Linked DNA regions of Homo sapiens: regions 1 and 2 are each linked to region 3. The links are contacts of gene promoters, found by promoter capture Hi-C in blood cells and fetal thymus (Javierre and others, 2016). All regions are on one chromosome and are shown on one strand. The core of a region is centred on a gene start or on the middle of the fragment in contact, and the rest is flanking DNA. Distances in the headings are between cores, read along the strand shown. Region 1 overlaps HAX1 (HCLS1 associated protein X-1). Region 2 holds the start of SNORA58B (small nucleolar RNA, H/ACA box 58B). Region 3 holds the start of RAB13 (RAB13, member RAS oncogene family).

Evidence for each region. The method cuts DNA at HindIII sites, captures the fragments that hold promoters and counts their contacts. A CHiCAGO score of 5 or more calls a contact.
Region 1: a contact is called between a fragment that was not itself captured here and the fragment with the promoter of RAB13 in region 3, in 1 of 17 cell types (fetal thymus). The highest score is 5.0, in fetal thymus.
Region 2: a contact is called between a fragment that was not itself captured here and the fragment with the promoter of RAB13 in region 3, in 3 of 17 cell types (naive CD8 T cells, naive CD4 T cells and naive B cells). The highest score is 6.3, in naive CD8 T cells.

Annotation. Positions count from the first base shown.
Region 1 is chr1:154,275,392-154,278,372 of GRCh38, forward strand. It overlaps HAX1 (HCLS1 associated protein X-1), which reads left to right. Exons shown (of 7, transcript NM_006118.4): 6 at 2-92; 7 at 225-484. The coding sequence ends at 310. Among named protein-coding and RNA genes, the nearest start is that of HAX1, 4.3 kb to the left of the region's middle. The HindIII fragment of the contact is 2,442 bases long and covers 374-2,815 here.
Region 2 is chr1:154,257,653-154,260,545 of GRCh38, forward strand. UBAP2L (ubiquitin associated protein 2 like) reads left to right here. Exons shown (of 27, transcript NM_014847.4): 21 at 1,325-1,378; 22 at 2,296-2,377. It overlaps SNORA58B (small nucleolar RNA, H/ACA box 58B), which reads left to right and starts at 2,075; the gene lies at 2,075-2,210. The HindIII fragment of the contact is 872 bases long and covers 1,124-1,995 here.
Region 3 is chr1:153,984,767-153,987,830 of GRCh38, forward strand. It overlaps RAB13 (RAB13, member RAS oncogene family), which reads right to left and starts at 1,573. Exons shown (of 8, transcript NM_002870.5): 1 at 1,347-1,573; 2 at 1-15. The coding sequence starts at 1,470. RefSeq lists enhancers at 632-861, 1,175-1,676 and a silencer at 1,488-1,657. The HindIII fragment of the contact is 17,219 bases long and covers 1-3,064 here.

The sequences.
Region 1 (2,981 bases), core at 345-2,844, 290 kb after region 3:
GATAGTGGAGGAGCGCCGGACTGTGGTGGACAGTGAGGGCCGGACAGAGACTACAGTAACCCGACACGAAGCAGATAGCAGTCCTAGGGGTGGTAAGTTAAAAGACAAAGGGGTTCATCTCAAGATTCCTTGGGGAAGGGAAATCTTACTCTTCTACCCTTGTCCTTTGCTTCTGCCTAGTCTCTTTCATTTAGCCTATTTACGTGTATGACTTTCTTCCTTAGATCCAGAATCACCAAGACCTCCAGCCCTGGATGATGCCTTTTCCATCCTGGACTTATTCCTGGGACGTTGGTTCCGGTCCCGGTAGCCTTGTTAACCCTCAGAGGCCTTCAAGTCCTTTCCACCTCTCACCCATTGCCCACCATTAATAAGCTTAGCTTCTCTTGCCACCTCAGGGGCTTGGATATGTGGAATAGTGAACTGGGGCCATGTCAGTTTGTCACTCACCCAAACTGACCAATAAAACCTTTATTTATGCTAATTTTTTGTCTTGGTTTTGTCAAGGCTATTTCAGTTTCTAGAACCATCCAACACTTCCGAAATTATCTTGGTCCTCTGCCTTCTCCTTATTCCTTAATTTTTTATTCTGCATCTAAAACCTGATTTCATAAGTAAGGGTCAGGCACAAGTAGAAAATGATTTTTCTTTCTCAAGCAAGAAAAAAAAAAAAAGAGGCCGGGCTCGTTGGCTCATGCCTGTAATCCCAGCACTTTGGGAGGCTGAGACAGGCAGATAACCTGAGGTCAGGAGTTCAAGACCAGCCTGGCCAATGTGGTGAAACTCTGTCTCTACTAAAAATACAAAAATTAGCTGGGCATGGTGGCGGGTGCCTGTAATCCCAGGCTAGGGCAGGAGAATCGCTTGAACCTGGTAGGAGGAGGTTGCAATGAGCCGAGATCACGCCATTGCACTCCAGCGTGGGCGACAAGAGTGAAACTCCATCTCAAAAAAAAAAAAAAAAAAAAAAAAGAAAAGAAAAGAAAAAGAAAAATGATTTTTCTTACTGAGGAGATGACTAGAAATAATTTCAGGAAAATTTCTAGAGAGGGATACATCAGATTCCCAAAAAAAGGGTGTGGGTGTGGAAGTAGGGGTTAACTGCTTCCCTGAGTGTGGGATCACTGACTGGAGAGTTCATGAAGTAACTGGGGAAGCACATGGGTAAATTTCCCTTACTTTACTGGCCTTAAAAAGTTGTTATGTGGCTGGGTGTGGTGGCTCACGCCTGTAATCCCAGCACTTTGGGAGGCCGAGGCAGATGGATCACATGAAGTCAGGAGTTCGAGATTAGCCTGACCAATACGGTGAAACCCTGTCTCTACTAAAAATACAAAAATTAGCCAGATGTGGTGGCACATGTTTGTAATCCCAGCTACTTGGGAGGCTGAGGTAGGAGAATTGCTGGAACTCAGGAGGTGGAGGTTGCAGTGAGCCATGATCATGCCATTGCACTCCAGCTTGAGCAACAAGAACGAAATTCCATCTCAAAAAATTGTTATGTATGTTAGAGAAAATACACCTGGCACAAACGTTACTAGGTCCTTTTTTCTTTTTGAGGCAGGGTCTCATTCTGTCACACAGGCTGGAGTGTAGGGGGCGATGTTGGCCCACTGTAGCCTCGACCTGGGCTCAGTCCTCCCACCTCAGCCTCCTGAGTAGCTGGGACTACAGGCGTACACCACCATGCCTAGCTAATTTTTTTTCTCGTTTTTTTTCCTTTTATTATTATTATTATTTTGTATTTTTTGTAGAGACGGAGTTTTGCCATGTTGCCCAGGCTTCCTTTTCTCATTATAAAAGTTTTTAACCAGGTGTGTTAGACTGTACCTATCATCCTAGCTACTTGGGAGGCTGAGATAGGAGGATTACTTGAGCCCAGGAGGCGGAGGCAACATAGCAAGATCCTATTTCTAAAATATATATATATATATATATATATTTTTTTTTTTTTTTTTTTTTTTGAGATGGACTCTCGCTTTGTCACCCAGGCTGGAGTGCAGTGGCGCAATCTCGGCTCACTGCAACCTCTGCCTCCCGCGTTCAAGTGATTCTCCTGCCTCAGCCTCCCGAGTAGCTGGGACTACAGGCACGTGCTACCACGCCCAGCTAATTTTTGTATTTTTAGTAGAGACAGGGTTTCACCATGTTGGCCAAGCTGGTCTCGATCTCTTGACCTTGTGATCCGCCTGCCTCAGCCTCCCAAAGTGCTGGGATTACAGGCGTAAGCCACCACGCCCCGCAAAATATTTTTTAAAAATTGGCTGAGCAGGCTGGGCATCGTTGCTCACACCTATAATCCCAGCACTTTGGGAGGCTGAGGCGGGTGGATCACTTGAGGTCAGGAGTTCAAGCAGGCTGGGCACTGTGGTTCACACTTGTAATCCCAACACTTTGGGAGGCCAAGGTGGGCAGATCACTTGACGTCAGGAGTTCGAGACCAGCCTGGCCAACATGGTGAAACCCCAACTCTACTAAAAATACAAAAATCAGCTGGGTGTGGTAGTGCACACTTGTAATCCCAGCTACTTAGGAGGCTGAGGCGGGAGGATCATTTGAACCCAGGGGGTGGAAGTTGCAGTGAGCTGAGATTGTGCTGCTGCACTCCAGCCTGGTTGACAGAGCGAGACTCCATCTCAAAAAACATAAATAAATAAATTAGCTGAGCATGGTGGCCCACATCTGTAGTCTCAGCTATTCAGGAGGCTAAAACAGGAGGATCCCTGGAGGCTGGAGTTCGAGGCTGCGGTGATCTATGATCACACCACTGCATTCCAGCCTGGGCGACAGAGTGAGACCCAATCACAACAACAAAAGCTTTTAGTACTGTGGTTAAGAGGGGCAAATCTGGGGCCAGTCACAGTGGCTCACACCTGTAATCTCAGCACTTTGGGAAGCTGAGCGGAGAGGATCAATTGAGACCAGCCTGGGCAACATAGGGAAACCCTGTCTCTACAAAAAAATTTAAAAATTAGCTGGGC
Region 2 (2,893 bases), core at 310-2,809, 270 kb after region 3:
GCGTGCAGTTCAAACCTGTGTTAAGGGTCAACTGTAATTAAAATATAAAATAAATGAGGGATTGCCACATGTAATCAAACTGGTTTTTAATCTTTGCAGTTTTGGAAAAAATACTAAACTGAGGCCAACCCATCTATTGTGTATCTGCTTTGGTTTATGGTGCACACATGTATGCATGTGTGTGTGTGCGTACAATGTGTATGTATATGTGTGATGAGAATATCTGCCCTGTTTGAAACACAGCTTCTGGGCCTCAGAAGCCAAAGGCCAGAATGTTCATCTGGAATCCTTTTTGGTTTCTTAGATAATTATGACTATTATTTTATTTTTTGAGGCAGATCTTGCTCTTTTACCCAGGTTGGAGTACAGTGGAACGATCATAGCTAGCTCACTGCAGCCTTGAACTCCTGGGCTCAAGCAATCCTCTCACCTCAGACTCCCCAAGTAGCTAGGACTACAGGTGTGCATCCCCATGCCTGGCTAAGTTTTAAAAATTTTTTTAGAGACAGGGTCTTCCTATGTTGCCTAGGCTGGTCTCAAAATCCCAGGTTCAGACAGTCCTCCTGCCTCAGCCTCTCAAATAACTGGGGTTATATATAGGCCTGAGCCACTACTCCTGGCCCCAAGAATTATTTTCTCTGATTTGATTAAATCCCTAACTCTGAGTGTGTTTGCTGGTCTGGCCTGGTTAGAGGAAAGTTTCCTGACTCAATCTGGGACTTTGAGAATAAGTGGCTGACATTAGTAGCTTTTTGCCCTAGTGTATCTTCTGTGACCTTCAAGTATTTGGTACCTATTAAGATGAAGGATATATGGAAACGTTTTAGAAGATACCTGTTCCTGCCCTCATAGACAAAGTCTAGATAAATTTCATACCGATGACACATCCAAATAACACAGTTACACATTTTTAATTTGTGGTCACTACCTTAAAACCCTGACATTGGAGAAAAGTGAAGTATTCTTTCCAGAGGAGATTATTTTTAAGCCAGATTTTGAAGAGTATAAGAGACAGAGACTTGTAGAATAGAGAGTAAAACTGGTTGTTCGTGTATGTTTTGTGTCTACTCTATTGGTATCAAGAAGCCAGCCTACTAGAATCAGTAGTATTTAGCTCAAGGAAAGCTTCAAGACCTTTCATGAATCATTTAATCTCTGTGTACTTTACTGCTTTTTCCTTAAATAAAATTGAAGGAAATAATCCGTGTCCTGTTCTAACCCAGAATGAGGATGAATGTTCTGTTGAATTAGCTTGTCTCTTGGCTCCTTGTTTTGCTAACATCATGACCAGTTCCTGTTATTGCTATATGTCTGTATCTTTCAGCCACAAGTATATGGTTATGATGACTTGCAGATGCTTCAGACAAGATTTCCATTGGTGAGTATGTGGGATAGAGCTTTGGAAAAGAAAGTAGTCTTAAAATTAGTGTTGGGAGAATTATCTCCGTCACAGACATAGCTCTTTCCCATCCCAGCCCTCCATACACTCTGATTTAAGGCATATTAGAATATAGGGATTTGGGGGAGGGTTTCCAACAGAAGATAACTTTTTTTTTTGAGACAGAGTCTTTCTCTGTCGCTCAAGCTGGAGTGCAGTGGTGTGATCTTGGCTCATTGCAACCTCCGCCGCCTGGGTTAAAGCAATTGTCTGCCTCAGCCTTCCGAGTAGCTGGGATTAAAGGTGCCCACCACCACCCCCAGCTAATTTTTTTTGTATTTTTAGTAGAGGCGGGGTTTCACCATCTTGGCCAAGCTGGTCTTGAACTCCTGACCTTATGATCCACCCGCCTCTGCCTCCCTAAGTGCTGAGCTTATAGGCATGAGCCGCCGCACCCAGCCTTTTTTTTTTCTTTTTTTAAATCAGAGTTGTGGCATCTTAGTAAATACATTTTAACCTATTCTATAGCCCAGTAAAGTACTCTGGAGCACTCAGGGTGCTTTCTGTTTGTCCCAGACACTTTAAATTATCGAATGATCTGTTTTCTCAGTAGAATAAGCTTGGTATAAACTGATAGGGATGACACCTAGAGGGTTGAAAATATTGGTCCTCGTGGACTTTGATGTATTCTCAAGTGGGCATACCCGTAGACCTTGTCTGACTGTGCTCATGGCCAGGCAGGGGGGACAGTGTATGCAAGAGTAATGTGGAGTTTGTGCTAACTCTAGCCAGCTTAATTAGTGACTGGATAAATTGCACAACTCTCACATTCTTCTGTTTTTTCCTCCGTGGAAATAGTACTCATGCTGGGGAATGAGTGACATTGAATCTCTGCTCTTTTTTCCCCTCTTTTCTAGGATTACTACAGCATCCCATTTCCCACACCCACTACTCCGCTGACTGGGAGGGATGGTAGCCTGGCCAGCAACCCTTATTCTGGTAGGATTGGGATGGGACTAAATAAATAAAAAGGGAGATAGTGTTGGGATTGATGGCAGACACCTGATTGGTAGCAAGAAGGGATGTGATAAATCAGGATTGGTAGATTCAAAATCCTGCTAAAGTTGGGCATGTCATGGCTTTTCCTATTCATCCCACTTTGTGTTGTCTCCCTGTGATTTCTAGATGATATCTTAGCCAGGCATGGTAGCACACACTTGTAGTCTCAGCTACTTGGGAGGCCAAGGTGGGAGAATTGCTTGAGCCCAGGAGTTCAAGACCAGCCTGGGCAACATAGCAAGACCCCATCTCCAAAAAAAGTGATATCTTGACTTAGTTTCAAGCCATTTGCTAGCTTTTTCCAGGAAATACAGTGGTTGAGGTGGTCTTCTCTGCTCATCTCTGCCCCTTTATGCTACTACTCACAGTGGCAATCTCACTGCCTTGCCACTCCTTCTTTTACCTGACCTATCATTGTCCTCATTGACTTACCGTTTTCCCTGATCCATCGTTGTC
Region 3 (3,064 bases), core at 323-2,822:
TCTTGAAATCAATTCCTAGGGGTGGAAGGTATGCACTGAAGTTGAGACATGCATGCACACATGTAAAACTGTGTGATGGAAGGGACAGGAACGGAGCAGTGCTGGCACCAGAAATTCTGCAGGGGAGGCACTTGGGGAACAATCTTGTTGGAAATGCCAAGCTAGGAGAATTTTCCCAAAGCTGTATTTGTATAGCAAGAATACTATTTTTACGTACATTTTATGGATTTTGGGAGGGAAAAGGTGACGAAAATTCTGCATGGAGGCTTAAAATCCTTAGGCTGCCTCTTGGGTCCATTCAGTTATACCAGCTGACAACTCTCTGAATTCAGTCTCTGTCTCCCCCCAGATATTACTTTCACATTCCTCTTCTCTGTTTTCTTAGAGCCCTCTACTCTTGGTATCCCACCTACCCTCCTAGTAGAGAGTAAGGAAAAAAGTAGCTGAAGCCAGTCTATGTGAATTAACTAGTGGGCCAAACTTGGCACTAGGAAAGTCTGAGGCTAAACAGGATTACTTTTGAGACAATTAGGAAAGAGGGGCATTTTTCCTTTTCCTTTGTAACCAGAATTGTCGTGAGACTCTTCCTGTCTATTTCCCAAGCCAGAGGAGATGAAGAAAGAAGAGAAGGGAGGAGGGGAGACAATGTTCTTCTTAGTAGAAACTTGGGCACCTCCCCCAAGCCTGCTGGGGGCCCCTGGGAGGAGGATGAGTCACCAGGCTGACTCAGAGACCCCAAAAGTCCCCTCATTTCCACGTTCCTCACCAAGCTGGCTGCATATTCATGATCACAGTCCTTGGGCCACCCTCCAGCACACCCAGCCACCTTGTTCCACCCTTCCCAAACCCTTGTTCAGCTGAGGTGCAGGGAGACTGGGGCAGGGAACCTGGGAAGTAGATGGTGAGGTGGGGACACAGTGGGAGAGTTTGAAGCTCAGCAAGACAGAAAGAGGCTAGCATCGGATCGGGAGAAAAAGATGTGGCGGACAGGGATACAGGAAACATGGAGATAGGATCGAGAGAGTTCTAGGTGGTGGGGGTAGGGGAAGAGGGGAACAGAGAAAAATAGAGAAGAGTTCTTGTGGATTTGGGGAGACTAAGGCGATGGTACCAAGAAAATGAGGAGCTGGCAGCAGTTGAAGAGTTACCTGAAGGCCTCAGAGAGGTGAGAGGTTTGGTTACTATACAGAGACATGCACGGGGGAAGGGTCAGAGCCAGGGGTTGAGGGACTAGAATTTAGGAGCCTTACTCTAAGGGGACTGAAAAGTGGGGTCACTAGTAATCCGGGAGCCGGAGAAGGAGGTCACAGGAGAGTCGGGGTCTGGGACATGGCCAGCGGGCTCACCGATGGTGGAGATGTAAGTGTTGTTGAAGTTGTCCTCTGCAAAGCGAATGATCAGACAAGTCTTGCCCACCCCCGAGTCCCCGATCAGCAGCAACTTGAAGAGGTGGTCGTAGGCTTTGGCCATGGCGGACACCGGGGGAGCCGGGGGAGGGGTGGGGAGCGCCCGGCACTGGTAGGCGGGACTGGACGGTTGGCAAACAGAGCGGCACGGAGCCCAGGCCAGGAAGAAGTTTTCCTCCCTCTCCGCCCAGGCTCCGGGAAAGAGGAGAGGCGGCACCCCTCCGGGCTCCACCCCCTGCCCGCCCACCCTTTTGAGCAGGCCAAGGCTGCCAGCCCGGCCTCTGTTCTCTCGGTTTTCCCTTCCTAGCTTAGGCCGGCCTGTCTCTCTCGCTATTTTCCACAGCCTTTCGGTAATTGTAGCTCCCCTCTTAGGACCTTACTCTTCCATTCTGAGGCCAGAGAGGCTGGGGTGAAGGGAAGTAGAGGTTTAACCACGACGACCAGAAATTTTAGAAGAGAAATTTTAGAGGGATTAGGGGAAGAGAACCAAGAGTTTTGGGAATAAGGGTGAAGGTAGGGAGAGCACTAGAAATTGAAAAAAAAAAATGGGGCTGAGTTTTGGAGATGCTATTCAACGAAGCTAGAAGATGAGTTATCATCGGTTTCTGGGGCTGAGTAAAAGGCAGTCCTAGAATTTTACTGTTAGTTGTCCAAGCCCTTAGTTCTATGGGTCCCAATTCACTTTGAAAAAAGCGGGATGCGCAGAAGTAGGTTATTTGTTGAGTCAGTCTGCCCCCTGGTGGAACAGGGTGAAAACGTAAATTAGTTATACAGAATCGGCCCCACCACCCCAACACACACAGCCTACCTAGACACATCCTGGGGCTTCAGTTGGAACGATCTCTCTTATGGGGACCCATGTGTGATTTCTCTGACCAAATAGCTTAGGAAAACAGAGATTTGAACTAAAAATGTCATTCTTTACGTGAATCTTTTAATATGGCCCACTTAAGGTGCAGTACTCCTGAAATCTCACTCAATAGGCCATGAATGTGTAGCCTTGGTAACCAGGAAGCTGAAATATGAACAGCACGGGTATAAAGAAACAAGTTTGCCGGGCGCGGTGGCTCACGCCTGTAATCCCAGCACTTTGGGAGGCCGAGGCGGGCGGATCACGAGGTCAGGAGATCGAGACCATCCTGGCTAACATGGTGAAACCCCATCTCTACTAAAAATACACACACACACACAAAATTAGCCGGGCGTGGTGGCAGGCGACTGTAGTCCTAGCCACTTGGGAGGCTGAGGCAGGAGAATGGCGTGAACCCGGGAGGCAGAGCTTGCAGTGAGCCGAGATTGCGCCACTGCACTCCAGCTTGGGCGACAGAGCCAGACTCCGTCTCAAAAAAAAAAAAAAAAGAAAGAAAGAAAGAGAGTAAAAGAGAAACAAGTTTATCTCTGCCTTTAGAAAAAAATTATTCTTGCTATATGTGTGCTGGGGGTGGAAAAAAATACGAAACACGAAAGAAAGAAAATATTATCTAAGACCTGTTGCGGTGGCTCACACTTGTAATCCCAGCACTTTGGGAGGCCAACGTGAGAGGATCCCTTAAGCCCAGGAGTTCAAGACCAGCTTGGGCAACATAGTGAGACTGCTTCGACAAAAAAAAAAAAAAAAAAAAAAAAAAATTAGCCATACATGGTGGTGTGGCCTGTAG